Regions from separate parts of the Homo sapiens genome. Here region 1 is linked to region 2. The links are contacts of gene promoters, found by promoter capture Hi-C in human tissues and cell types (Jung and others, 2019). All regions are on one chromosome and are shown on one strand. Each heading gives the region's core, a stretch centred on a gene start or on the middle of the fragment in contact. The rest is flanking DNA. Distances are from core to core; before and after follow the strand shown. Region 1 overlaps RGSL1 (regulator of G protein signaling like 1). Region 2 holds the start of RGSL1 (regulator of G protein signaling like 1).

Region 1 (6,275 bases), core at 3,706-6,205, 41 kb before region 2:
CCCATGTCATTACCACTGTGGCACTGCCACTTCACTGTCATCACATCTATGGCTGGTCACATTGATGACCAGCTGACAGAAGAGGAAAAAAGCTGAACCTGTTTCATGAATGGACCATCTCAATATCTTGGTGAAAATAAACAGCTGAAGCCCTCTATCAGTGGTGATCCTGAAAGATGATGGGGAGAGAAAAATCCCCTGCAACGCCATAAGCAGAACTTTGGCGGCGAACCTGTGCATTCGTTTGTGTGGAAAGAGAAGTAGCCCAGGATAAGAATATATACATACTCATGGGCAGTGATGAATGGTTTGGCTGGTAAGCCAGGGGCTTAGAAGGAGAAAGATTAGAATACTGGGGACAAAATGGTCTGAGAATATACACATGTGGATGGATCTATGAGAAAAAACATGACATGTGGAGATCTTTGTATTGCATCTTAAAGCCCTCCAAAAAACAACTACCATGAAAGAGGCACTAAACAACCAAGCAGACAGAATGACACTCTGCCAGTTGATGCCAGCAAGTCTCTGTCATAAGCCACTGTAGTGCTGGCACAGTGAGCTCATGGACAGAGTTCTAGGTGGCAGGGATGGAGGCTATGTACAGACCAACAGCATGTGCCCCATGTTTGAGTGCCAAACACTCAAGTTGCTGGCAACAGAAACAAATGCAGAGCCCCCAGTACCCAGTATAGTAACATCCCTAATAAAAGCCAGCCACTTAGTGACAAACTGATTACACTGAACACCTTCTATTCTGGAAAGAGCAGCAATTCATTTTGACTGGAACTGATATGTATCTTAGCTGCAAGGTCTCAGACAGCATCACCACCTCGGGGCTTATAAGTGATTGATCCCTCAATGGGATCTCACATAACATTGCCTCTGACCAAGGGATACACTTTATAGCAAAGAAGGTGTGGCAATGGCCAATGGGTCCCACGAAGATGAGATCTACTAGTTCTATTTCCTTTGAGAGCTGCTGGCTTGATGAAGTGATGGAGCCACTTTTTGAAGGCACAGCTGTGAAAGCAGCTTGAAGCTACCAGAATGCTAGGGGAGAATGACGATACCTCAGGAAAATGAGGCATCATCTTCCAGGATAATTCAAAGACCATTATAAGGTGTGTCTTCAGTAGTAGAATAAATGGGCCCAGGTACCAATGAATGAAAGAAGTGTTCCATTTACCATCAGTATCAGAGACTTACTTAGGGAAATTTGTCATCTTTATACCTTTAGGTTCTGTAGGTCTAGACCAGTGCTGTCCAATAAAAATATAATGTGAGCCACGTATATAATTTAAAATTTTCTAGTAGTCACATTGAAAAAGCTAAAAAGAAAAGGGTGAAATTAATTTTAACAATGTGTTTTATTTACCCACATGTACCAGTCACATTTCAAGTGCTCAGTGGCCACATGGGGCTAGTGGCTCCTGTAATGGACAGTGCCAGTCTAGAGATCTTAGTTCCTGGAGGCAGAATGCTTCTACTAGAGGAAATAGTAGCTGTTCAATCGCATTAAGCTCCTTATGCCAAGAAGTCAGCAGGCAAGCAAAGGAGTCACTGTACTGATAGGGTAATTGATCCTAATCATTAAGATCATGTTACATAGCAGATACTGGACAATTCACTTGCCACTCTTGGTATTCCCTGGCCCAATTTGTATGATAGGTTGACAAGTGAAGCAGCCACAGCCTGAGAAGTCGTGATGACCGGGGGCTCAGGTATCCCAGAGATGAGAGTCTAGTAAGACCCCAAGACCAGCAGAGGTGCTAGCTGAGCATGAGAGGAATCTAGGATGGGGAGCAGGAGAGGAAGAAGAGGAATATTAGCAATGGTCTTCAGATAAGGTAGAGTAATGTGAGCCTGCCTTTCTCAAATACGTTTCCCAGGACAAGAAACTATCAGATTCCTGGAGGAGCTACTCCAAGATGAGGTGAAATTTCTATACAAAGCAAATGGACAGTAGTGGGTGGTACTGGGTACTACCCAGAACCTCCCTTCAGGGCCAAAGCACTCATTCCCCTAGATGCCTGAGTGTTGGCTGCTGATGGCCCAGAGAGGAGGCCCCTTCTGGAAGTTGCTTCAGCCAAAGGAAACTGCCTGGCTATAAACCCTAGGTTATATCCTTCACAGGGGCATTCACATCTCCCGTGGATCAATGTGGAAGAACTAAAGCCCAAATTAAATTTCTTACCTCACTGAGGGACAACTCTGAAGGGCCACCCTGGCATCAGAGTTTCTTATGGCATCTGCTGAGGCCTGTTGTGATTGCTTCACAGTTCAGCATCTACCTCTCCCCAATCCTGCCTTCCTCACTCTCTTAGAGGTATTATTCCCAAGAGCACTCCTTAACAAACATCCCTTCACAAATCTCAGCCTCCAGGTAACTTGACAGAAGAAGAATTCACATTAATTAAAACCCCAGAGTGATAACTAGATAAGAAAGTAGAAATGAACAATCTTAACCATCATCACTTCATTCATTTATGATTACATCTTATTTTCATGATGCTCTTCTGTGGTTTCGTAGGAGAAAAAAGACATAGTCATTACCCCCTAACCACCTCTCCATTTCCAACAGAGCATGGTTCCTCTTTTGGCTTATGTTCCTTAAAGAACACAAGATTACAGATTTTCTCTTAGATTTGAAAAAACCTAGTTGCCTCGTCTATCCCTGATTTTAAACACTTGCCTATTTTAGGTGCTTTCTCACAGTATATTTTGTAGTCATCACTGATCTTCTGTATGGCCATCTTTGGGTTCTTGTAGCAAAGCTCCTCAAAGGACATTTTAGTTATGTCTGTGAAGTAAGGAAAAACAGAGATAGAGTTTAGTTGTCCAAAGTCTGGGTTCAAAGATTCATATACTTTTGTTGAAGGTATTGCCTTTAAAATGCTGGGCGCAGTGGCTCACGTTTGTAATCCCAGCACTTTGGGAGGCTGAGATGGGTGGATCACAAAGTCAGGAGATTGAGACCATCCTGACTAACATGGTGAAACCCTGTCTCTACTAAAAATACAAAAAAATTAGCCGGGTATGGTGGCGGGCGCCTGTGGTCCCAGCTACTTGGGAGGCTGAGGCAGGAGAATGGTGTGAACCTGGGAGGCGGAGCTTGTAGTGAGCCGAGATTGGGCCACTGCACTCCATCCAGCCTGGGCCACAGAGGGAGAATCCATCTCAAAAAAAAAAAAAAGGTTATTTAAAGAGGCCAATAGTGTTTTAATGGGATGTTTACAGAAATAATACAAGTTCCCTAAGCTAAATTATAGGCAAGGAAATAAGCCTCCTCTTCCCTCCAGAATGAGAAGATCCTCTCCTTCTTAGGGAAAACTGACCCATGGAGATTATTTGCCTGAGGGTTGCTAGGGTAACCAAGATATGACTTGAAAGAGCTACTATTTTTTAATTCATATATGAGAAGTAACTCATACAAATGAATGGTGACTCCTTCAAAGCATCCATCTGTTGAGGGATTGAGTAGCAAATGTATGTGTTCTTTTGCAGAGACGGGTTTTTGCCATGTTGCCCAGGCTGGTCTTGAACTCCTAGATTCTAGCGATACTCCCGCCTTGGCCTCCCGAAGTGCGGGCATGAGACCACAACTACAAATGCATTTCAAACATTCTACTATTGCTTCAAAAAAAATTGAAGCCCCTAAGAATAACAAATGGCAAAGAACATGCTATGCTATGTTTTCCCTTTCTCAGCTCTGACTTTGGGAATTACTTTCAGAATTAACTTACCTATCTGAATATTATCAATAGTTGCAAATCATTGTCCTTTGGAGTGGATTTTTTTTCTAGAAAGAGCCATATATCATCTTAAGTTATGCATGATGAATTGAGAGGGAATACCTTTTTGTATCCAAAATGTGGTGAGACAATGAGGCTGAGATAGCAAGAGATGTTTTAACAATGATCTGGTTAACAGAAGCAGAATAGTAGCACCTTACTTCCTACGGAGGAGAAGTATTCATTTGGGTTGTGAGTTCTGGGATTTAGAGTATATCTAAATGCACAGAGTTCTCCTGGAACTCTCTAGGCAGTTCAGTACTTTCTGAAGCTATACTATTTGAGTCTATAAAGAGTACTGGGGTGTGGACCTGTGAATGTGAGTCATCATCATCATCATCATCACCATGATGTGTAATCAAGGAGAATCTTGACCAAAAGTGTTAAGAGCAGTGGGTTATTTCTGCAGTGGGTCCAGGTTTCTAGTCCTGTATCAATTCCTTCCTTGCTGAGCAACCTTGGGCAAGTCTTTTCACCATTCTGGAAGTCATGTTTCCCTGTATAAAAGATGATAGTGGTCGGGTGTGGTGGCTCACACCTGTAATCCCAGCACTTTGGGAGGCTGAGACAGGCGGATCACTTGAGGTCAGGAGCTCGAGACCAGCCTGGCCAACATAGTGAAACCCTGTCTCTAATAAAATACAAAAATTAGCAGGGCATGGTGGCGGGTGCCTGTAATCCCAGCTACTCTGGAGGCTGAGGCAGGAGAATTGCATGAACCTGGGAGGTGGAGGTTGCAGTGAGTCAAGACAGTGCCACTGCACTCCAGCCTGGGAGACAAAGCGAGACTCCATCTCAAATAATAATAATAATAATTACAGTTTTTTAAAAGTACCATACGTAGGCTAGGCATGGTCACTCACACCTTTAATCCCAGCATTTTGGGAAGCCAAGACAGGAGGATGGCTTCAGCCCAGGAGTTCAAGCCTAGCCTGGGCAACATGGCAAGACCCATCTCTACAAAAAAAAAAAATTAGCTGGGTGTGGTGGTGCATGCCTGTAGTCCCACCAACTTAGGAGGCTGAGGTGGGAGCTTCGCTTGAGTCTGGGAAGTCATGGCTGCAGTGAGCTGTGATTGTTCCACCACACTCCATCTCAAAAAAAAAAAAAAAAAAGATAATGTTCTAGCTCTGGTACTCTGTGAGTTTAGGGTACAGCTTGAGACACCAACCTACCTGAGATTCAAGGCTCTGATTTGGCCAAATGCAAAGAAGGCCCTTTATTAGGCCAGACTTGTGCTCCAAAAAAGCAGTGATAGAGGAAGTAATGATATGTGCTTTGGAGAGGGACAAGGAGCTTCCATGGAGGGTGGTTCACATTCTTACTGGCTATCCCTTGTGTCCCATAGCCACCAAAGTAACGCCTATTGCCCAACATATGTGTGGTGAAACTTACCAGCCATCTTTTCATCTACTTTGGTCTTGATTCCTGGGAAAGAATCTAAGATCCTCAGGATTTAGAGAGAGAGTGGAATCTCTATGGTTAAAAAAGAGGGCCTGTTCATGCTAGATTTAAATAACTTATGCCCAAACATGGCTCTGACAGACAGGCATCCAGGGCATCTTGGTTTGTATACAGAGTGCATATTAAAGTTTTAAAAAAGAGCCGGATGTTACATTCTTTTGGTAATCTAACAAGTACCATTTACTTAGCACCTGCTTACTATGTAAATACATTACCTCTAATCCTGAACAAATTAGGGGCCATTATCTCCACTAAATAGATGAAGAAATTAGGTTCAGAGAGAAGGAGTAACTTGCCCAAGCTCACAGTGCATATGAATGGTATAACTGAATTTTCAAAGCTTTTGCTCACTCTTTATCCATGTTTTTCAAAGTGTAGGTCATGACTCACTAGTATGCCAAAAAATAAATGGTGACATTGTTAGCTTTTATATGACATGAAACATAATAGAATAAAGAATGCTGGAGTACAGCATCTTATGTAATAAGGGCAAGTATTGCTTTGGAAATTTTTTTTCATATATATGTGCACACATATACACAGGTATATATTTAAGGAATTATGAAGTCAAACGTATTTATTGTGGATCAAAGTTTGAGAAATATGCAGTATTCCAACTGCCTCAACATAGATAATTAAAGCACTATGCTCAATTTGAATAATAATGACTAACATTTACAGTATTGAACTCTTAAGTGATTGTCAAACATTGTACTAATAGCTTTCATAGATGATCTCAGGTCACCTGCACAAGTTTGTTATTATTCCCATTTTACAGATGAGAAAACTGGGGCTCAAAGAGAAGTTAAATACATTGCTCAAGCATACAAGTGAATAGGAGAGCACGGGTGTAACCCCAGACTTCTGGGACAGCAAAGCCTTTTGCTCCTAACGATGTCTCTCCACTGCCTGGGTGGGCTGGTGTGTTATGTTAGGGAAGCGGGTGACTGTAAAATATGTTCACAGAAATGCGCTTGGACCCTATTCTGGAGGAAATGTGGTGAGGTGGAACATGCT
Region 2 (7,075 bases), core at 1,452-3,951:
TGTAGTTATGATATAAGAAAACTAAACAATCATTTTTCCTGATGACACTGGTGGTTGTTGGCTTCATATATTAGAAATAGAATTAGAAACTCCTGGCCAGGCATGGTGGCTCATGCCTATAATCCCAACACTTTGGGAGGCTGAGGCTGGTGGATTGCTTGAGGCCAGGAGCTCAAGACCAGGCTGACCAACATGATGAAACCCTGTCTCTACTAAAAATACAAAAATTAGCCAGGCATAGTGGCGGGAGCCTGTAATCCCAACTACTTGGGAGGCTGAGGCAGGAGAATCGCTTGAAGCCAGGAGGTGGAGGTTGCAGTGAGCCGAGATCGCACCACTGCACTCCAGCCTGAGTGACAGAGTGAGACTCTGTCTCAAAAAAAAAAAAAAGGAAACCCAGATAAACACTATTGTGAGTGACAGAGCTGGTATCAGCACTTGCCCTCTGTTCACATACATCTTTTTTCTTGCTGTCAAGTGCTATGTGTGTTTTATGTGTACCCCTCCCAAGCCCTCTGCTCTTCTTTTTATAAGCAGTCCTTGATTTATTTAATCTATTCCATATGGGTGATTCCAAAATCTGTGTTTTCAGTCCAGGCTTCTCTCCTTCACTCTGGTTTTAAATATACATGAGCTATGGGCCAGCTCTACATGCATATCCATCAGGCACTTTCATCTCAACATGTTCAATGTGTCCAGGCCTCCCAACCTGCTCCTTTTCCTACATTCCCAGTCCCAGTTACTGGAATTATCATTCAATAAATTATCTAATCCTGAAAACTGAGGCTCTTCTCTCTGTCTCTGTCCCTGTCTCTCACTCTCACTCTCACTCTCAATCTCTCTTACTCTTGCTCTTACTCTCTTGTTCTCTCTCTCTCCCCTCCATGTCCCTACATGCAATGGGGGATCATGCTGTATGGTTTCTCTTTGTACCTATCTCTGGAATCTGTCTTCTCCTTTCCATCCATAAAGTTACTCTTCCATTACAGGCCTCTATGCTCTCTCACCTAGACTTCTGCATCAGCTTCTTAAATGGTCTCCCTAGCTCCCACCTCTTGCCCTTCCAACCACCCTACACGTACTGCCACCATAATCTGTTGATATTATTATTGTTAAAGTCTTTCAAAATCTCCTTGATGTCCTAGAAGGTAAAGTCCAAACTCTCTAGTATAGTATCTGAGGCTTTACCCCATCTGGCTTTTGAGTTTCCTCCCAGTCTCATTTCCTGCCTCTCTGCGCACTCTGCCTCCTGTTTGCAAGCTAAGCCAAGGCATTGCTGTTTCCTGCATGTGCTAGGTACTCTCACTTGAAACCTCCATGTCTTTGTTCCCATATTCCCATTGCTTCAAATGTTTTCTTAAGCACAGTCAGCTCACAAATTAATAGTCATCCATTAAGAACTGGTTTACATATAATCTTGGTGAGCCAAGAAAGGTAGAATCTACTGCAATGGTAGAATTCATCACTATCTCCCTATACCATCACGTATATCCTCCATTATTACAATTAACAAGTCTGACTGTTTTTATCCATCGATATATCTGTCTTCCTCATCAGACTGAGCGTGTGAGAGGAGGGACTTTGTTTTTTCACCTTTCTTCCTCTAGGCTCTAAAAGTGTTTGCACAATGTCTAAGTTCTGTAAATGTGGAATAAATTGTTCTTTCAAAAGATAATCTTCAATCTTTTTTTTTTTTTTTTTTTGCCAAAGTCTCACTCCGTCACCCAGGCTGGAATGCAGTGGCAAGATCTCAACTCACTGCAGACTCTGCCTCCCAGATTCAAGTGATTCTTGTGTCTCAACCTCTCCAGTAGCTGGGATTACAGTGCATGCCACCACACCTGGCTAATTTCTGTATTTTCAGTAGAGATGGGGTTTTACCATGTTGGCCAGGCTGGTCTTGAACTCCTGACCTCAGGTAATCCACCTGCCTCAGCCTCCCAAAGTACTAGGATTACAAGGGTGAGCCAACGCTCCCAGCCAATGATTTTCAATCTTTTGGACTTTTGTTTGTTTATCATTCATAGAGTCTAACATGGATTTGTTGAATGAGTATATTACTGAGCCCATCTGAATACAGAAAAGTGGGGTTTGGCAGAAATTCCCTAGTGATTGTTGTTCACAGCTACACACACCGCTGGTGGCAAGGGGCCTGACTATGCTAGGGCTTGCCATTGCCAAAACAGTCTTAAGGAGATATAGAGACAAGGCTCTGTACATCCTTCCCTTCCTCATCCTCTCATTTCTCCATTCTTGTTTTTCCTTCTTACCTGTTCTGCCTTCAAACTTCCTAATAATTTGAGAAGGCTTTTAGCACCCATTCCACGCCATAATAATATTGACTTGGCAACAAATGAAATCACTGCATAATCTCAAACCCCATACCAGTCTTCTCTCTGGAGGAGAGGTGGCCCAATCCACATTTTACTTCCTCCCTCTTGCCTTAGTTGTCTTATGAATAAGGCCCTGTACTATCCTCAAAGATCTGGTGGCAGAAGGTAGGAGGAAGGGGAAGAAGGAGAAAGAGAAGGAAAACAAAGGCATGAATAACACAAAAGTCACCCATGGTGCCCCTGAATGGCTCAGATCTATTAACAATTGGGAAGATGAATGGTTTGCCTTATTTGAGAGACTCAAGGCCTTGGAGACATCCCTGGCAGAGACTCACCAGCACTGCTCATGTTGCCATGCTCTTCCTGACACAGTAATTTGTTAGGGGCAGAATTACCCCCCAGTCAATAGAACTATATCCATTGTGAACACGTAATGACACCTTCTCTAAGGGGTTCCAGATTCTATCTGGCAGTGATCTACTTACCTCTGGTGTAGGCCTTAATCTGAAGATAAGTCTTTATCTTACCTAATCTGCTGAATCCCCTTGGACATACAAGACTCCTCCTATACTTAAGCCTTTAGTTCATACTATTTTATTTGACAAGTTCTTTATAATTGTGCCCAAGATCTCTTGTCTGCTCCAACCTCTCCCATGCTAGGGTGACTTTTGCATTGCTAAACTCAGCTCCTAAGGGTCTTGTAAACGGTTACATTTGATGTAATTTTAATAAGCAGTAACTCCTGGATATTCTGCCCATTTAAAACATCAACCTCCATTGCTTCAGCCCAGGAATTCAAGGCTGCTGTGAGCTGTGATCACACCACTGAACTTCAGCTTGGGCAACAGAGTGAAACCTCATCTTTAAAAAATTAAAATTAAAACATCAGCTTCCAAGAGGTTTGAACTCCCTTCCTCTGAAGACTCTTCAGGCTCTTGGTTTTCTCATTAAACAACTCTTCATTTCTCCTGTTCTTCCCTAATAGGAAGTAAATATTAAGATGAGAGACCAAAAGCCCTATAATCCTTCAAACTTTAGCCAAGAATTACTGAGAATAGAATTCTTCAGTGTCACACCCAGAGAGGGCTTTTAAGTCTTGGGATTGTAGGGAAGCTTATATAATGTCCAAAAGGCTTTCCTATGGGGGGTGGAGGGAAAACTGAAAACTGGAAGGATTATTGTTAATAATGAATCGTCAATACAATATCACTTACATTTGAAAAAGTGCTGTACTTTCTTTAGAATATATAAAGACCAAATACTGCATTTTAAAGTGATTTTAGTGAGAAGAGATTCTTGCTTTACATCTTGATGTTCTATGTATTGCAAGATGAGATTGTAGCTTACCATACTTCTTCAATCTGTTATCAATTACCTTATTCACCTTATTAATTAGTCAGTTTAACATGCACACATCTTAAGAGAGTTCAGTGTGAAGCACTGCATGATTCTACAATATCATATTATTCCTTGAATTATCACCTCTTTTGCAAAATAAATAGAGTCAAGGTCTCCTCCTAAAATAATGGCATATACAGTAGTAATATATGCTCACATTCCTTAAGATGGAATGCTTTCAGACTGTTTTCAATCAAGCTGTGTGCACCTACCCTTGAGTCCTAATTGCTGCCCCACCGTCTTTCCCACAGTTCAAAAAGGCTGACTGTTGGAGCCATTAACAACCAAATAGGGTCACTCTAAAAACAGTAAAGATGAAAAGCCAGTATCACTGGCTAAATCTTGAAATGCATAATGGTTAGATCCCTGACCCTTTCATGACCTTCTAGTTCCCAAAAGAAAAGGGCACCAGATGTCTCCCAAATGTGTGGTAATAAGAATTACCTTATTGACAGGGTTGTTGTTAAAAACCTAAATTGCCGGGACCGTCCCCTGGCAATTCTGATTTAGAAGGGGTGGGGCTCAGGAGTCTGTATATTTTCCAAGTGCCCCCAGATAATTATTATCATCAGGTAAATATAGAAAATATTGGGGCCAGATGCAGTGGCTCACGTCTGTAATCCCAGCACTTTGGGAGGCCAAGGTGGGTGGATCACTTGAGGACAGGAGTTAGAGACCAGACTGGCCAACATGGGGAAACCCCTTCTCTACTAAAAATACAAAAAAATTATCCAGATGTGGTGTTGCGCACCTGTAATCCCAGCTACTCAGAAGTCTGAGGCACAAGAATTGCTTGAATCTGGGAGGCAGATTTTGCAGTGAGCTGAGATCGTGCCATTCCACCCCAGCCCGGGCAACAGAATGAGACTCTGTCTCAAAAACAAACAAACAAACAAACAAACAAACAAACAAACAAATAAATTGGTTTCTAAATGAAATAGAGCTGCATTCACATCTCAGATCTGACATTTACTAGATCTGATCTGGTTTGCAAAACTCTGGGCATCTCCTTTTCCCAAGTGCACAGTTACCCTGGAAATGACAGCAGGTCTCTTTGGCAAAGATTAAGAAGAATATTCACCGTAAATACTTGCAAAATATTACAAGATTCTTCCTAACTGGTAAAATGCTTTTTTTTTTTTTTTTAAATTTCAGAGCTTCTAGGTCTGACTCAGGGCTGAAAATTGGATGAGGGACCTGATTTTCTACCATGATGGCTCATTTTAGGCTCCTGTTCATTCACTCAACAAATATTTATTGGGCAGGTCTATGTGACACAAACTGTTCTAGGTGTTTGTGATGCAACACTGAATAAACAGTCTAAAATCCTTGCCATCACAGAGCTTATACTTTCCAGTAGAATCTTATTGAATGAACACACATTTTTTAAGGACCCCATGATCAATAACCACTATAAAGAATCTGTGGGTTAGATCATTCAGATATCCACACAGGCTCAACTGCCTATTATGATAACTACGCTTATTTTGTTTTTGATGGTTAACACGACCTCCAGTAGAAATAAGAACCAATTTCAACTACAACACATCTTTTTCAGCATTTGTGGTTGTCCCCATTGTGCCACTACTGCTAGCACCACCGCTATTGAGTGTTTGTTGTCATAGGCACTGCCATGCATAACCTCTCATTGCTCCTGAGCTTCTGAGTCTTCCTTCAAGATGAAAAGTTTTGGGCTGGTCATGGTAACTCATGCCTGTAATCCCAGCATTTTGGGAGGCTGTGGCAGGTGGATCGCTTGAGTCCAGGAGTTTGAGACCAGCCTGGGCAACATAGTAAGACCCTACCTCTATTAAAAAATGATTTTTAAAATTAAATGTGTATATATTCTATATTTAATTATATATCATATATTTAATTTTAAAGATTAAATGTATATATCATATATTTAATTTTAAAGATTAAATGTATATATCATATATTTAATTTTAAAGATTAAATGTATATATCATATATTTAATTTTAAAGATTAAATGTATATATCATATATTTAATTTTAAAGATTAAATGTATATATCATATATTTAATTTTAAAGATTAAATGTATATATCATATATTTAATTTTAAAGATTAAATGTATATATCACATATTTAATTTAAAAAATAAATGTATATATCATATATTTAATTTTAAAAATTAAATGTATATATCATATATTTAATTTTAAAAATTAAATGTATATGTCATATATATCATATATTTAATTTTAAAAATTAAATGTATATGTCATATATATCATATATTTAATTTTAAAAATTAAATGTATATGTCATATATATATTTAATTTTAAAAATTAAATGTATATGACATATATATCATATATTTAATTTTAAAAATTAAATGTACATATCATATTTAAATTTTAAAAGTGAATGTATATATCTATATTTAATTTTAAAATTGAATATGCATTATATATAATTAAATATAAATTTATAAATATAAATATATATACATAAAAGTTCTGGGTGGAGGATCTGATTGCTGAGTCCAGGACAGGATATCCATGTCCTTACTGCCAGGGCCAGGAGAGAGACTGTCTGGTCCCCTCTGGCATCCATAGTGGGAGACAGTCCCTCCAAGACTCACACAATAAATTTTCACTCTAAATAAAAAAGAAGGTCAGAGAGTGAGTGACCAAAAGGTTTTTGAGATACACACACATATCTCTATGTTAACTGGATTCTGTGCTTAGTCATATGCATCTAACTTTAACAGGAAGAAGAACTACATCATGTTTACTGGGTGCTTGGACAATACTTGCTTATATACTTTTCCTGCTCTTCTCTCTATCCCTCTGTCACTTCGTTTAAATGGGTCATTCAATACCAAATGGAGAGTAAGTGCCCTTTCCAGGCTCATGTAAATATGGTGCCCTCTGGTGCACGGTGTTGAACATTACACTTTTCTTTTCAAAACTCCACTCTGTAATTTGAAGGTTTTGTTTCTGTTTTTCCCCAAACATAATCTTCAGTTCGTTTTACTTTCCAAAGTAATTAGGATCACTGTCAGAGTGCTCACACCTGCTGTGACATGAGAAGTACAGAAAGGCCCTTGTCATCCGAATAGTAGGTCTGCCTATTCCACCATCGTATCTGGCCTTAACTATAATCCTCTGTGGCTTTGTAGGCGCCTGTTAATATTATTTTACCTGGAAGATACAGTTGTGAGATATAATATTTGGAGGCAATCATTTACTACAAGAGATGAATTTATTAGTGTCAGGCTTCTGAGCCCAAGCTAAGCCATCATATCCCCTGTGACCTGCACGTACACATCCAGATGGCCGGTTCCTGCCTTAACTGATGACTTTCCACCACAAA

Evidence for each region. The method cuts DNA at HindIII sites, captures the fragments that hold promoters and counts their contacts. A contact is called where the count stands out against the background at its distance.
Region 1: a fragment that was not itself captured here is called in contact with the fragment with the promoter of RGSL1 in region 2 in 1 of the 25 tissues and cell types used here (H1 embryonic stem cells).

The regions. Positions count from the first base shown.
Region 1 is chr1:182,489,550-182,495,824 of GRCh38, reverse strand. RGSL1 (regulator of G protein signaling like 1) reads right to left here. Exons shown (of 22, transcript NM_001137669.2): 9 at 2,696-2,803. Among named protein-coding and RNA genes, the nearest start is that of RGSL1, 43 kb to the right of the region's middle. The HindIII fragment of the contact is 9,571 bases long and covers 170-6,275 here.
Region 2 is chr1:182,445,772-182,452,846 of GRCh38, reverse strand. It overlaps RGSL1 (regulator of G protein signaling like 1), which reads right to left and starts at 2,701. Exons shown (of 22, transcript NM_001137669.2): 1 at 2,669-2,701. The coding sequence starts at 2,681. RefSeq lists an enhancer at 2,256-2,863. The HindIII fragment of the contact is 7,176 bases long and covers 1-6,092 here.